Regions from separate parts of the Homo sapiens genome. Here regions 1, 2, 3 and 4 are each linked to region 5. The links are contacts of gene promoters, found by promoter capture Hi-C in blood cells and fetal thymus (Javierre and others, 2016). All regions are on one chromosome and are shown on one strand. The core of a region is centred on a gene start or on the middle of the fragment in contact, and the rest is flanking DNA. Distances in the headings are between cores, read along the strand shown.

What was found. Contacts are between HindIII fragments. The CHiCAGO score rates a contact against its expected background, and 5 or more counts as called.
Region 1: a fragment that was not itself captured here is called in contact with the fragment with the promoter of EFHC1 in region 5 in 2 of 17 cell types (total CD8 T cells and erythroblasts); the score reaches 6.7 in total CD8 T cells.
Region 2: a fragment that was not itself captured here is called in contact with the fragment with the promoter of EFHC1 in region 5 in 1 of 17 cell types (naive CD8 T cells); the score reaches 6.2 in naive CD8 T cells.
Region 3: a fragment that was not itself captured here is called in contact with the fragment with the promoter of EFHC1 in region 5 in 2 of 17 cell types (naive CD4 T cells and total B cells); the score reaches 6.5 in naive CD4 T cells.
Region 4: a fragment that was not itself captured here is called in contact with the fragment with the promoter of EFHC1 in region 5 in 6 of 17 cell types (total CD8 T cells, naive CD8 T cells, naive CD4 T cells and 3 more); the score reaches 6.4 in total CD8 T cells.

What each region holds. Positions count from the first base shown.
Region 1 is chr6:53,080,354-53,083,053 of GRCh38, reverse strand. It overlaps FBXO9 (F-box protein 9), which reads right to left. Exons shown (of 13, transcript NM_033480.3): 6 at 1,956-2,086; 7 at 436-550. Among named protein-coding and RNA genes, the nearest start is that of FBXO9, 16 kb to the right of the region's middle. The HindIII fragment of the contact is 1,868 bases long and covers 330-2,197 here.
Region 2 is chr6:53,002,464-53,005,163 of GRCh38, reverse strand. CILK1 (ciliogenesis associated kinase 1) reads left to right here. Exons shown (of 14, transcript NM_014920.5): 14 at 1-2,700. The coding sequence ends at 15. Among named protein-coding and RNA genes, the nearest start is that of RN7SK, 8.2 kb to the right of the region's middle. The HindIII fragment of the contact is 1,267 bases long and covers 742-2,008 here.
Region 3 is chr6:52,980,608-52,983,307 of GRCh38, reverse strand. GSTA4 (glutathione S-transferase alpha 4) reads left to right here. Exons shown (of 7, transcript NM_001512.4): 6 at 603-734. Among named protein-coding and RNA genes, the nearest start is that of GSTA4, 13 kb to the left of the region's middle. The HindIII fragment of the contact is 1,300 bases long and covers 628-1,927 here.
Region 4 is chr6:53,052,933-53,055,632 of GRCh38, reverse strand. All of the region lies in intron 1 of CILK1 (ciliogenesis associated kinase 1), which reads left to right. Among named protein-coding and RNA genes, the nearest start is that of CILK1, 7.5 kb to the left of the region's middle. The HindIII fragment of the contact is 1,175 bases long and covers 833-2,007 here.
Region 5 is chr6:52,419,080-52,421,779 of GRCh38, reverse strand. It overlaps EFHC1 (EF-hand domain containing 1), which reads right to left and starts at 1,438. Exons shown (of 11, transcript NM_018100.4): 1 at 1,307-1,438. The coding sequence starts at 1,369. LOC124901331 (a long non-coding RNA gene) reads left to right here and starts at 799. Exons shown (of 2, transcript XR_007059611.1): 1 at 799-1,571. RefSeq lists an enhancer at 878-1,469. The HindIII fragment of the contact is 6,560 bases long and covers 1-2,700 here.

The DNA of each region.
Region 1 (2,700 bases), core at 14-2,513, 660 kb before region 5:
ATAGAGTCCTTTCCCACACATAGCAAAATTTTCAAAATATAGAATAACTTTTAATGAGCCATAAGAAAATGCTAGTGCTGTTTTAATCTAAACCATTACCACAATGAGTTTACAGTTAGTGTAAAAATGACTTGAATATATTTTTCTAATATAACTCTTTTTCCCAAATCAGTTAAGCTAGCATGTAAACTCTATGGTAGTAGTATGGGTTACTACATCTGTCCTACATATTATTCTATACCCTAGAAACCTAGCATATTCTAGCCTTTAAATTCTAAGTTATTTGAGAAAGTTAAGTACAGCTTAGCAAAACTTGTTTATTCTAAGCTTTAACTCAGAACACCAATCAAGTAATTTTATCAGGATTGGCAAAGGACCATCTTTCTTTTCACCATTGCCTCAGTTGTTTAAAAAACAAAAACAAAAACTTAGTACCTGGCACAGATGTAGAATCCTCTGCACACCAGCGACAACTGCTCCAATGATCTGAGGTCCAAGTCACTAGACACCACCCATCGGAAGATGTACATCAGGACCTCCATTGGCAGCACTGCAAAAGAAAATCATCCTTCAGTGACTCTCCTCTATGTCATTCTATTGTCACAACTACATTCCCAGTACATTTATACCTTCCTAGAAATTTATAATCACACCCTCTGTATTGCTCAGAGCTAAAGCATGAATGTATTTAGCTACTCAATAATAATAATGGTTCTTAACATCAAGACATAAATATCTTTGTTTTTTCAGTATAGATCTGAAGCTACTTTTTATAAAGCACTCTTTTCCCTCATAAGATTATTTTGCCAGACATATTAAAATAAATGTTTTAGGAAAATAATCTATGTGTGTGTGATCCATATTGCATCTATTAACACTAAAGTTATTTTCATCTCCTTGAAAACTTTTAATTGTCCTCCTCTGAAAAAGCCCCGAACCAAACAATATTTAACATATTAAAAATACATGAATTTCTTTTTTTTTTGTGACAGGTTCTTGCTCTGTTGCCCAGGCTGGAGTGCAGTGATACAATCTCAGCTCACTGCAGCCTCTGCCTCCTGGGTTCAAGTAATTCTCGTGCCTCAGCCTCCCAAGTAGGTGGGACTACAGTCATGCGCCACGACGCCCAGCTAATTTTTGTATTTTTAGTAGAGGTGGGGTTTCACCATGTTGGCCAGGCTTATCTTGAACTCCTGGCCTCAAGTGATCCTCCCAACTCAGCCTCCCAAAATGCTGAGATTGCAGGCGTGAGCCACCATGCCCGAACAAAAATCCATTAATTCCTAAACATTCAGTCTGTCTCAGGACAATTGTCCAACATGGCTGAAATGCTTCATGATACCAGTATTCCTCCAGTTTTCTTAGGGCTACCTCAACAACTCAGACTTACCCTGTTAGATCTTTACTGAAAAAGGTATGGCATCCTTAAACAACAGCACTACAAACTGTTCTGCTTCAGATTGTAAAGCAGCTTACTACTGGGCTGGGCGCAGTGCCTCAGAGGCCTGTAATCCCAGCACTTTGGGAGGCCAAGGTGGGCAGATCATGAAGTCAGGAGTTCGAGACCAGCCTGGCCAACATGGTGAAACTCTGTCTTTACTGAAGATACAAAAATTTAGCTGGGTGTGGTGGCACACGCCTGTAATCCCAGCCACTTGGGAGGCTGAGGCAGCAGAATTGCTTGAACCCAGGAGGCAGAGGTTGCAGTGAGCCGAGATTGCACCACTGCACTCCAGCCTGGGTGACAGGGCACGTCTCCATTTCAAAAAACAAAACAAGACAAAACAAAACACAAAACAGCTTAATAGTATATGCAAATGATAATTATAACTAGATCTTCCACCATATTCTGAACTAAAGCAGCAGTTATCTGGCAAATTATCTGACCTTATAAATTTGGAAATCTTTAAGGTTAAGATATTTCTCACTGAGTTATGAAAAACAAGTATTCACACCTGATATGTGAATCTGACTGCTCTCAAGCTCAGGCTGACACAGTTTAAGCACAGACTCCTGAAATGTGAGTTGCTGCTGGAAGTAGGACAAGAGATCTGCCATTTTGCTGTCATCATCATTATCTTCAATGCTGAAAAAAGGGAGGTGAATAAATTAAGTGCCTCAGTCTACAAGCGTACAGTTTAGAAACTGATTTTTCATAGCATTTTCAAATTTGCTTTACAAAAAGTCACCTAAAGCTTATTCAACATGTGATACATTTTTAAATGTGATGAATTTATCCTGTCTTGCAAAGGAATACTGTATCAAGTTTTTCAAAGAAAAAAGCTTCAGTAATTATCATCCAGAAAGAATTAGAATTTTTGGATACAGGTGTTGAGATTTAACTAATTTTATTGTAAAGTAGAGATTTTATGAGTTACTGCAAGCTTTCAAATGGTTTCAAAAATCTTAACGTAGTATGTTCTTTAACCTTAATTTATTCTAACTGGATAAAAACCAAATCTACAGACGTCATCTGAGGTACTTACTTACCAAGGGTTTTCTAACAGATTTGCCTTATCAGCCTACCTTTAGAGAGGAAAATACCTACTTTGAAAACATCTTAGGGTTCACAAATCATCTACCAGTATACACAAATGTGTAGTGAATGGTGCTAGAAAAATGAGCTTTCTATTTTTACTGAAGTAAACCTTAAAGATGATCAGACTTACAAAGAGGATTGGATGAAGGCGAAGTTAGAAA
Region 2 (2,700 bases), core at 126-2,625, 580 kb before region 5:
GCATCTCGGCGATGACTGTCTGCCTTGGTGATGAATCTCTTCCTAGGGAGAAGCAGGATACTTTCCCTCAGCTGACTGGTGTTCTACCTGCAAGATGTGCAGAGGGCATAAAAGCAAATCAACACTTTATAGTTATTCTTCTGAACTAAGACATGTCAATATTCTTTTTTAAAGTTTTTTTTTAAAATATTGATTTGAATGCAGTAGGCTTTTTTGTATAAAATTATTTTATTCTAAAACTGGGTCCCATTATTTTCTTAAACAACAGCATTTTGTATATATGGATTATGTTTTAGCATTTTATACAGTCAACTTTGTAATGAACTTTTTAAAAATTAATTGATTTTCCTTTGGGGTTCCAGATAATATTTTCTACAGATTTTGAAAAATGTAATAATATTAATGCAGTATTGCAACAGGGGTGCAATTTAAGGCTATGTGATAGAGGGTTATTTACTCAGTGTGTGCAGATATTTATGAAGTGGTGAAATTTCAAGTGTGGCTCACTAGGTACTTCAGGCCTTCTTGGACTGTTGTTAGAAAAGTGATCCTCTGCTTTTCTTAGTAGGTCATTGGTTTGATTTTTGGATACCACTCTGCTGTTCTAAAAGGACTATTATATTATATAATTCACTTTGTTTTACTTTTGTTCCCCAGATGAAAGAACTCTAAGTAAATACATTTTAAAAAATTTTTCTGACACCCTTTAATGTGGTTGCAGATCTCAGATGAAACCAAGCTTAATTATACTATGCCATTATATTCTAATTTATTCCATTTTTGAAATCAAGTTGTATGTGTACCAATAAAAGAGATTTCTGCTTCAAAAGGCTCTCAACATGAAGGTTAACACAGTCAATCAAACTTACATTCCTGCCAAGATGCATGGCCAAAAAACTAAGTATCAAAGCAGCAGAAGGTTTTTGATTATAGTAACTGAGATGGAATTTTGTGCCTAGCTCAGTTCTCCAGATCTGGCTAGGAGCAGTCAATGACTAATGTTCTGTCCTAGCCAAATTCTCAGGACAATTTGGGGAGCAGAAAGAGTTATGGCAGAGGTTCCACTCATCTACAAAGTCACAGTCACATGCCACATTTGATCTCCTAACCCTGGTGTAGTTTCTTTCAAGAGTGAGAACTTTATTTGTTGGGCAGAGGCTGTTCCATTGAGAGGAATGTTTACAGCAGTTTCAAAAATGACAAAGTCAGTTTGGAGACAGAAAAAGACAAAAGGTCCAGTCTCATCCATCTCTATATGGTACATTTGCCTCACTTATGGTTGCCTTAAAGGCAAGAGGGAAGGTCACCATCAGTGAACGCAATGCAATCTCAACAGTGTATTGATTCATATTCTCCTAGGGCTCAAACTACTCTCTATTGGTTCCAGGATAATGACAAATTGAACCATATGTAAGTAATCTTTTATTTTTTATTTTTTTTTTGAGACAGAGTCTCACTCTGTCACCCAGGCTGGAGTGCAGTGGCGCGATCTTAGCTCTCTGCAACCTCTGCCTCCCAGGTTCAAGCCTCCTGAGTAACTGGGACTACAGGCGCCCGCCACCACGCCCAGCTAATTTTTTGTATTTTTAGTAGAGACGGGGTTTCACTGTGTTAGCCAGGACGGCCTCGATCTCCTGACCTCGTGATCCACCCTCCTCCACCTCCCAAAGTACTGGGATTACAGGCATGAGCCACTGCACCCAGCCAAGTGATCATTTTTATAGGTTAAAATGATAGGTGAAATGAATATAGACACTTTCATATGGTTCAACCTAATGACTTGGTAAATTATTGCCTTGGTGTATTAATAATATGTTGCATTCTGAACAAATAACCATGGCTTCCAAAGGGCCCTAACCTAAAATCGGAGAGTAATTTATGCTTTGGAGAATTTGACTCAAATATATACTTGACCAAGCACCATGATCCCTAGGGGCATGAGAAAAGCACATAATGGATGTGGATGTGATAGGTGGTCTTTTCCTGTTAACAAGCTGGCAGCAAAGCTTCAGAAAATATATATGCAAGCACAACTTGAAGCTGAATTCATTTCTGTATTATATTCTCAACTCGTTATCTAAAGCATCAGAACATGTGTTTTCAGAGATGAGTCCTTTACTATAAGGTTAATATTTATTTTCATTTTCTGTATTATATATGAAAAGTAAATTAATGTGAAACCTGGCCCAGCTTGCTGGAAAGCAGGTTTTAAATTGTAAATATTCCTTAGAGGAGCAAATGGATTGTTTAATACCATAGTCTCAGTAATCTAGCTTATATAAGGTCATTACATTTTTTAACTGAAAAACCTAGTTACCTGATTATTGCACATTATAAAATTGTTTTTCTAATACTTTATAGGGCCCAACTTCAGAAAATACTTCGCTTTTTTCTTTTTATGCTTTCGTTTGTTTACCAGCAAGCAACTTCCCTGGGGAAGCCAAACACATATTCATAAAAAAAATCAAGTAGCTGATGTGCAGTTGAGAAAACTAGAGGACTGAAAAAACAAATTTTAACTAGCAAATGCTGTGAATTACTCTTCCTCCCCTTCTCTGAAATGGGTAAAGGACAAATTGTGTAAAAAAACCTATGCACTATAGAAGGGAATAGTAACCATTTCTTTTGTCTCTCTGTTTCTGTTCTGACTGAGAACCTGCAGCCATTTCTTGTTACATGAAAACAAAATGCTACTTGTTA
Region 3 (2,700 bases), core at 28-2,527, 560 kb before region 5:
CCCACACCTATACGTTACCCTCAGAATGGGAGTCAAGATGAACTCAAGCTTTTCATTTTCTCTGTTTTGGGACATGTAAGAGGAAGTCTAATTTTATAATTGGGTTGAGTTTATGACTACACCTCTTGATGTTCTAGCAGCAGAACTGGGAAATAAGAGTGGGCCCCTTGAAGATGATCTATCACTTAGATTTCTTAAATCACCCTGCCCCTCCCCAAGCCTCCTGCATGCATTTCTGTAGATACATTTTTGGAGTAGATATATCCTTTCAAAACACCAGATGCTAAATCCAGAAATAAGGAATTTTCCCTTCCCCACTTCAATGTCTCATTCAGATCCACAGCAGATATTTAAGGATGCTTTCATTTCCACACCTTTTTTGTACTTTCTCTCTCTCTCTCTCGCTCTCTCTCTCTCTCTCTCCCCCTCTCTCTCACTCTCTCTGTCAGATATAGGGTGCGTTCTCTTAATTGATGTTATTTATGAAAGCATGAAATGACAAGGTCATAGTTTCACCTCTTCTCAGATACTGCACTGATTCAATAGCCTCATCACTCTCTCCATGTGGAATATTGTAACTGATGCACACCATTTCCCTACAGATTTTAAGGGGTCACGGACAAAGCTTTCTTGTTGGTAATCAGCTGAGCCTTGCAGATGTGATTTTACTCCAAACCATTTTAGCTCTAGAAGAGAAAATTCCTAATATCCTGTCTGCATTTCCTTTCCTCCAGGTAAATAAAACTATGTATTAGAAGATTGGCCTAGAACTCTTGGGCCTTCCTTCAGTGTCTATTGTTTGGTTGGCTTTGGGGAGTGTGTGTGTGTGTGTATGTGTAATATTTTTAAGATTCTAGTTTGGCAAATGAAATGAAAGTAAGGACCCAAAGTTATTTTTCTGGTCCTTAAATCCTTCAAGTTGAAAGATCATTGAAGTGTAAAATTTTTTTTTTTTAAGGTGGGATCTTACTATGTTGCCCAGAATGGTCTTGAACTCCTGGGCTCAAGAGATCCTCCCACCTCAGTCTCCTGAGTAGCAGGGACTATAGGCATGTGCCAGCACACCCAGCTCAGAAATTTTCATCTTAATTTTGTTCCATAACTGCACTCCTGGAAAAAACTCCATGCACAGGGAGTTTGCCTCAGGGGACTTTCCATAGAAATAACCATAGAGATGAGGTGGTCTCACACTCACATGTATCTACTGATGGAATAGTGGGCGAGATAAACATCAAAACAGTCTCATTCATCAGGCTATGACTCCCTTTCTCAGAAATAGTATGGTCTCAAGTTAGGAAATTCTAAGCCTGAGCTCTGAGAGCAAATGAGAGATGTTAGCACCCTAAACATCACCCCAAAGGATTCCTACCATTCTCCTTCTGAGAATTCCAAGGAAAGACTTGTGTGGTTCAAATTATCCCTCAGGGTTATTCTGGCAGGATTGATCATAGAACTTTAAAGGAGAGAAGGGCCTTTAAAAAAAAACTCATTTAATGACTTCAATATTCACTTGAGGAAGTAGAGACCCAGAATAAAGAAATCAGCAGCCAAGCTGGCTTAGGCAGTGGATGCTTGAGTTTTATCTAGAACCTTAGCCTTTTATCTCCAAGTCTAATGTGCAGACTGTAACTCCTGGGCCAAACCTGGCCTGCCACCTGTTTTTATACAGCTTGTGAGTTAAGAATAATTTTTACATTTTTAAATGGTTGAAAAAAATCTGTGGAATAATATTTCATGACACATAAAAATTATATGAAATTCAAATTCTAGTATTCATAAATTTCATTGGTACAAAGCCATGCCCACTCATTTACACAATGTCAAGGTTACTTTTGTTTTTCTACAGCAGAGTTGAGTAGATCTGATAGAGACCATATGGCCTGCAGAACTTAAAATATTTGCTGACTGGTCCTTTATGGAAAAAGCTTGCCAATCCCTGAAACAGCCTGGATACAGACCAAATTGCTATATGTTTGACCAAGTTATCAAAAGCCAAGAGAGATACACTAACTCTCCAAAGAGTAACACACATACTTAAAACAATTTTTTGCCAAGTCTATTAAATATTTTGATATACTAATGAGAGCAATTACCACCAGTTCAATAAGTACACCCAGAAAATGAGAATAAAAATCTTCAACAAGGCAATAAACCACCATATCATTTATGTTATAGTTTATATTTTTTTTTCAATTTTTTTTTCATTTACTTTTGCAGACACAGAGATTGACTTTCCTTAATTTGATTTTATTCATTCAGAACTTAGGATACTTTTCACCTGAAGTATTCTTTTGCACTGTTAAAAAAGTTACTTGTTTAGCAGAGAAGGGAAATTAGAGGAAGGGATCTGCAACTTGTTGAGTGCCAGCTTCATTCCAGTCAGTCTGCTAGGCACTTACATGCATTTGCTCATCTGTCCCGTCAACCCCACCCCAATAACCCTAGGAGATGGGCTTCACTATCTCCATTTTACAGATGAAAATTACCAGCTTGGAAACATTACATTCTGCATAGTTGCAAGACTGTGGATGACTGAGTTGGGAGCCACAGGGGAGTCAGGGATCTAAGTCTGTACTCTTTCCACTAGACTGTGTGGTTTCTGAGAAACACATTTAGAAGTACTAGAAGTACCTTTGGCCCCAAATAGGTGGGATGCTGAACCCAGAAGTAGGTAGAATGCTAAGCTTATTAAAGGTGAAA
Region 4 (2,700 bases), core at 171-2,670, 630 kb before region 5:
GTAAAGGTATGAAGAAGTTTCTGGGGCACAGAAGAAGGCACATCATGTAACGGATTATCTTCTCTTGTTAACATCCAGTTGATGCAATAGCTGAATGCATCTTTAATTCACTCCTCTGTCAAGGTAAAGACAAAGCAAGATCCATGTAAAGAAGGTCCTTTTGGCTTTGTAACTGCTATTCCTTATGCAGAAAAAAAGCAGTAGTCCAAGAGGCAAAATGCTTAAAAGGTTTGCTTGCTAAAATGTACAGAGGCAGAAGAATTAGGTCCAGGAGAAAAACATAAACCCGGATATACTATTTCTAGTACCTTTTTAAAAGAAATTAACAGTATTCACTGACTTTTGTAAAGTTAGGACACATTCAAACCTAGAATACGAAGTCTAATTATAAACCTGTAAAGGTAAAATGGAACTCAGAATTACCATGAGAAGGGTCATCTAATGATTTTGCATATAATCCACTTTTCCTAGGAGGATAAATGAAAGTAACAGAATCTTTTCAATGTAAGATAATTAATGCAAAGGGAGACAAGCTCCTTCTAAGGAACTGAATGGTGTCAGTGGGCCTGGTAAACCACAACTCCCAGAGAACCCCAAGTTTGCTGTAACTTTTTGTCTCCTGTCTTAGAAAATGTGTAATGATGGCATTAATTCATTGATTAAGGTTTCAAAATAAAGAATGAACTACAATTTTCCCTGCCCCTCGCCTCCATTTTTTAGGCTGTGAATGAGCAAGGCACCTGATGTGAGCTGCTGGCCATGAGCAAATGTTCTTTGCCTCCACCGAGGATTGACGCTGAGGGGAGGGAATTGGGGCAAATCACAGGAAGCTTTTCCCCAATGTCACCTAGCCAGGAACATCATAACATTGACTTCAAAGGTTTGCTGGAACTCTTTGAAAGAGAGATAAAGCTGTCTTTCTTTGGTAGTTGAGTACAGCCTTACCCAAAGGCCAAAGGCCTGATCTGACCGCATGGAGGGGGACTTTCTGTGATCCTCTGAGACTCAGTCATCTTGGCATTGTTGTGGGAGGGCCCAGGCTGCCTGCCTGCCCCAGCTATTCTGTGGTATTCACTGTTCTTCCACTTCAGAACTTCAGAACTTTTAGTTGGGCCCAACAGTTTATCTTTGTTTTGTGTATGACAAAATAGAAGCACTGAGAATTTTGAGGTACTTAGCCAAGGTGGTACAGAAAATAATAGCAAAGACTAAAACTCACATTTGGGCCCTTCAAACAATCTTTGAGGACTTGCTACTGCAAGTGGAGTGAGAAGACAAAGATGAAGCAGTCTTGGAGAGTGTCGAGGCTGAAGCAGAGGGTACACCTGCAGGTCATTGCCACGGGGAAGGGGCTGGCAGTGAGGTGAGGACAAGGCACTATGGCATCAAGGGAGAGGACCATTCTCGGGTCTATATGTGTAGGTTGGGGCAGGAGGCTTGGAAGAGGTGACATGTGAGCTCGAAAGAGAAGGAATCGATGTTTAATGTTTACTGGGGCCTGGCTGAGGCACTGGGGCACTTGTGCATCTCTTGAAAGAAAGGTGTGTAGCATACAGGGTCCTTCGGTGGCACTGTCTTCTCCGCTAACCTTTGTTCATGTGATGCAAAAAGCAGAAACATTTATCCTTTTTTTTTTCTTAGACAAATGCTAGCTCAATTCCTGATACAGAGTCACAGAATCACACAGCTTTAGAGGAAGAAACCACCTTAGAGCAAGTCCCATGCCCTAATTCCACCAAAAGTAAACTCAAGGACCAAGAGATGCCCCGAGGCACAGCAGATCAGTGCTGAGTGGAAACTGGAACCAGTCCCTCACTTTGCCTCCACTGTGGGCATGTTGGTGCTGCCAATGGCTCCAGAGGATTCGCTGATATTTGATTGCAGAATGAAGACAATTAGAACATAGCCATATCATTCATTTTCATATTTGGGCTTTGAGATACAAAGTACTACTTCTGTTCCTGTCATTTTCAGATCCTCCAAAGATTTCATGATCTTTTGAAAGCTTTCCCTTAAGTTTGGTACAGTCAGCCTGGGTTCCTGTCTCATTTCTGCCACATTAGTCGTATAATCTAGACATGTAACTTGTGTCTCAGTTTCCTTCTCTGTAAAATAGGGATAATTGTAATAGTACCTGCCTGGTAGAATTATGAGGGTTAAATGTACTAATATATGCATAAGCACTTATAATAGTACTATGCACATACTAAGTACTAAAATTATCATGTTTTGGGCATATTTGATATATGAGGGTGCTAAGTGTAGATTCGTTGTAGTGAATGATTTATCCAAGTTAATTCTTGGAGTCAAAGCAGAATTTAGAAATACTGCGAGTTAGAAATACATGCTAATTCTCAAGGTAATGGACAGGCTGCTACATTCCATTCACTTCTCAAGCAGTGTTAACTATCTGTACCAGAAGCTGAATTTAAATGCTGTCAGGGCAGAGGAGGAAAATAAAAGACTCAAGGAAGCTGGGTGTGTGCTTGTCAAACAGTAAGAAATTGCTCTTCTCTTCTAAAAAAGAACAATTTTTCTTCTCTTCCAATTTTTCTTTAAGTATAAGGTTTTTTTTTTTTTCAGGCTTTTACTTTGTCACTTTTGTTATAGGCATAGGAACAGAGAAATATTTTTCATCCAGTAAAACAAGTGGCTATGAAGGCACACAAAAAAATGACAGCTAAAAAAAAAAAATGGCAA
Region 5 (2,700 bases), core at 189-2,688:
GAAAAGTCCACTGAAACTAAAAATCTATGATGTTGTGTCTTAATGCAGGGATAATTACAGAGATTCAGAATACAAATTCTCTCACCAAACTTTCGATTTCATTCTAAATTGATTCTTCCAAAGAAAATAAATTGACAAAATATTTTAACTTTGTGAAGCTGGAGAGGAAGGCAAGAGTTTAAAGTATTAAACTATATAAACATAAACTACTGTTAGCTCATCTATGATGATCAGTCTACTGAATCTCATTATTGATTTTTCAGCACATACATTTCAGTAGCCCTGTCAGAATTAAAACAAACCAAATAATTTTAAGAGCTAAACTGTGGCAAGAGTTTAAAAAAAAAAAAGAATCCAAGCTGCTGCTACTTTTTAAAAAATTTTGTCTAGAAAATGCAAATAAAAACACAAGGTTGGGGAAGGAGCAAAACAAAATCTAAACAGGAATCTTTTTACAAAAACGTTAGAATAAAAAGAACAGGGCCGGGGAAGAATAAACAGCAACTAATCAATTCTTGAGGGAACTGGAAAGGAATATCTCTTACAAAGCAGGGAAAGATGCTTTGGGAGGAAGGTGAGCAAGTTTTGGGGAAAACCCGCAACGGAGAAAGAAAGGAATGGGGAGAGGATGGGACTAAATTGTGGAAAATGTAGAAGATGGAGAAAAAAGAATGGGGTTGGATGCAAGCATAAAGAAGAAAGGAAAAAGACCTGGCGGAAAGAAGAGGAGCGGAATCGATATACATACAAAACAGGAAATGGAGCTGGGAGTGGGAGATACTACCGGGTACAGGATTCAGAAGAGGAAGAGGTGGGGCGGGAATGACGGACCTGTGGGAATGAGGTTGAAGGTGCATAGTGGCGGGGGGTTTTAAGGGCGGCGATGGACGGAGACAGGTTATGATGTGAGAGAACGAGCTAGGGAGAGGGCCCAGAGATAGGTTGGGAGTAGGGTGGGGGAAACAGTGATCTAAAGGGACAAGAGGCAGGGGCTTGGAGGAGCAGGGCCGTAAGAAAGAACGCGGCTAACGGGATGAGAATGAAGGCGCCAACACACTGCCAAGATGGAGTGGGAAAAAACTAGAGAGGGATGAGGCGGAGGGCAAAGGATCGGAGAGAGGGGATGAGGATGGCTAGGGAAGAACGGCAGAAGTTCGGCCCAGAATAAAGAACAGGGTCAGGACAGAAGACGTGTTTGGAGAGAAGACAGACTTGAGTGGAGGGGAATGGAGGTGCACTGAGCGGGGAAACCTCCTGGGCTGCTGGAAGGTGGGGACAGGTGGGAGTCTGGCAGATAACTGCTCACCGTAGAGTCCTTAAAGGACGTGCCCGGAAGAAAGGGCAAGCCATGCACGGGATTGGACACCATTGCAGCCGGTACCACCGCCGCCACCTAGGTCCTGCTTCGTCCTCTCCGGTTGCCCAGGCGACAAGCAGTGTTCGCGGGCACCTCCAGGATCCATGGTAACGCTAAACATCCGGAACTCCCACGAGCGGAAGGCGGGGCCAGGAGGCGCAGGCATCACAGGAGGTTTGCGCGTGCGCCATCCGCAGGACTCCGCGTTCTCGCGGTAAGTGGGCCGCGGCCTTGGAGCGCGGCTAGTGGGCGTGGTTGTGTCGGCCCCTCCTCTTCCGCTTCGCCCCGCCCCGCTCCCGGAGGATGAGACGTGGGAGCTGTTGGGTGGCGCGGGGAAAGGCGGGTGTAGCGAGGCGGTAGTTCTCGCTGTGAGATCCGGGGTCCGAGCAGGCCCTTAGATGAGTTGCAGAGAGGGACGTTCCTTCTCTCCTTCCACCTAGTCCTGGCGGACCTCACTGCGCCCCGCCAACGCTGTGAGCTCAGGCACTCTTTTCTCCCCCCTCTGCCCCATTTCACACAGAAGTGTAAATGGTCGGTCCAGTTGGCAGTGCTACTAAACTAGACCCATGCTTCTTGTAGGCAGGGGCCGAGGATTACCCATGATTGTGTTTCTGTTGCTCAGGGATGGTCAATGAACTAATGCAATCATCTCATCCTTAATTCTCCCACTGCCACATTGTATTTTTCCCCTTTTAACTCTTTTTTAAAATCAATCTTTCTCTTTCTTTCTTTCCTTTCTTTCTTTCCTTTCTTTTCTTTTTCCTTCCTTCCTTCCCTCCTTCCCTCCGTCCCTCCTTCCCTCCTTGCTTCCTTCCTTCCTTCCCTACTTCCCTCCTTCCGTAGAGATAGTGTCCCACTATGTTGCCCAAGCTGGTCTCGAATTCCTGGGGTCAAGCGATCCGCCCACCTCGCCTCCCAAAGTGCTGGGATTACAGGCATGAGCCACCGCGCCCAGCTCTCTTTATTCTACCATCAATCCCTTCGGTTAAACACCTTTGTTTTTGTAGGGAAAGCCTTGAATATGTGCTGCAGGGCAGGGTGCACTCTGATAGGTACTTGATTTTTGTTGACTGAAGAGCTGCAGGTTGAAGGGTGGTCACCTCAATCCCTCGTTTGTACCTGCAGCTGCAATGAAAAAGATCAGAACCACTAGGAGGAACACAGCTCCTTCAAAGAGAAAGACTAAGTCTTGGGAAAGAAGCAGATAAGTGAGGTGAAATATTGTCAGCATCATAGGTATAGCCTTTGATGCTTTTTACAAAACTTGCTTAAATTATTTTTTCTTAAAAGAAACATAATCCTATTCCTGAAACATTTTTTTTGGGGGGGGGGGGAGAAAGCTA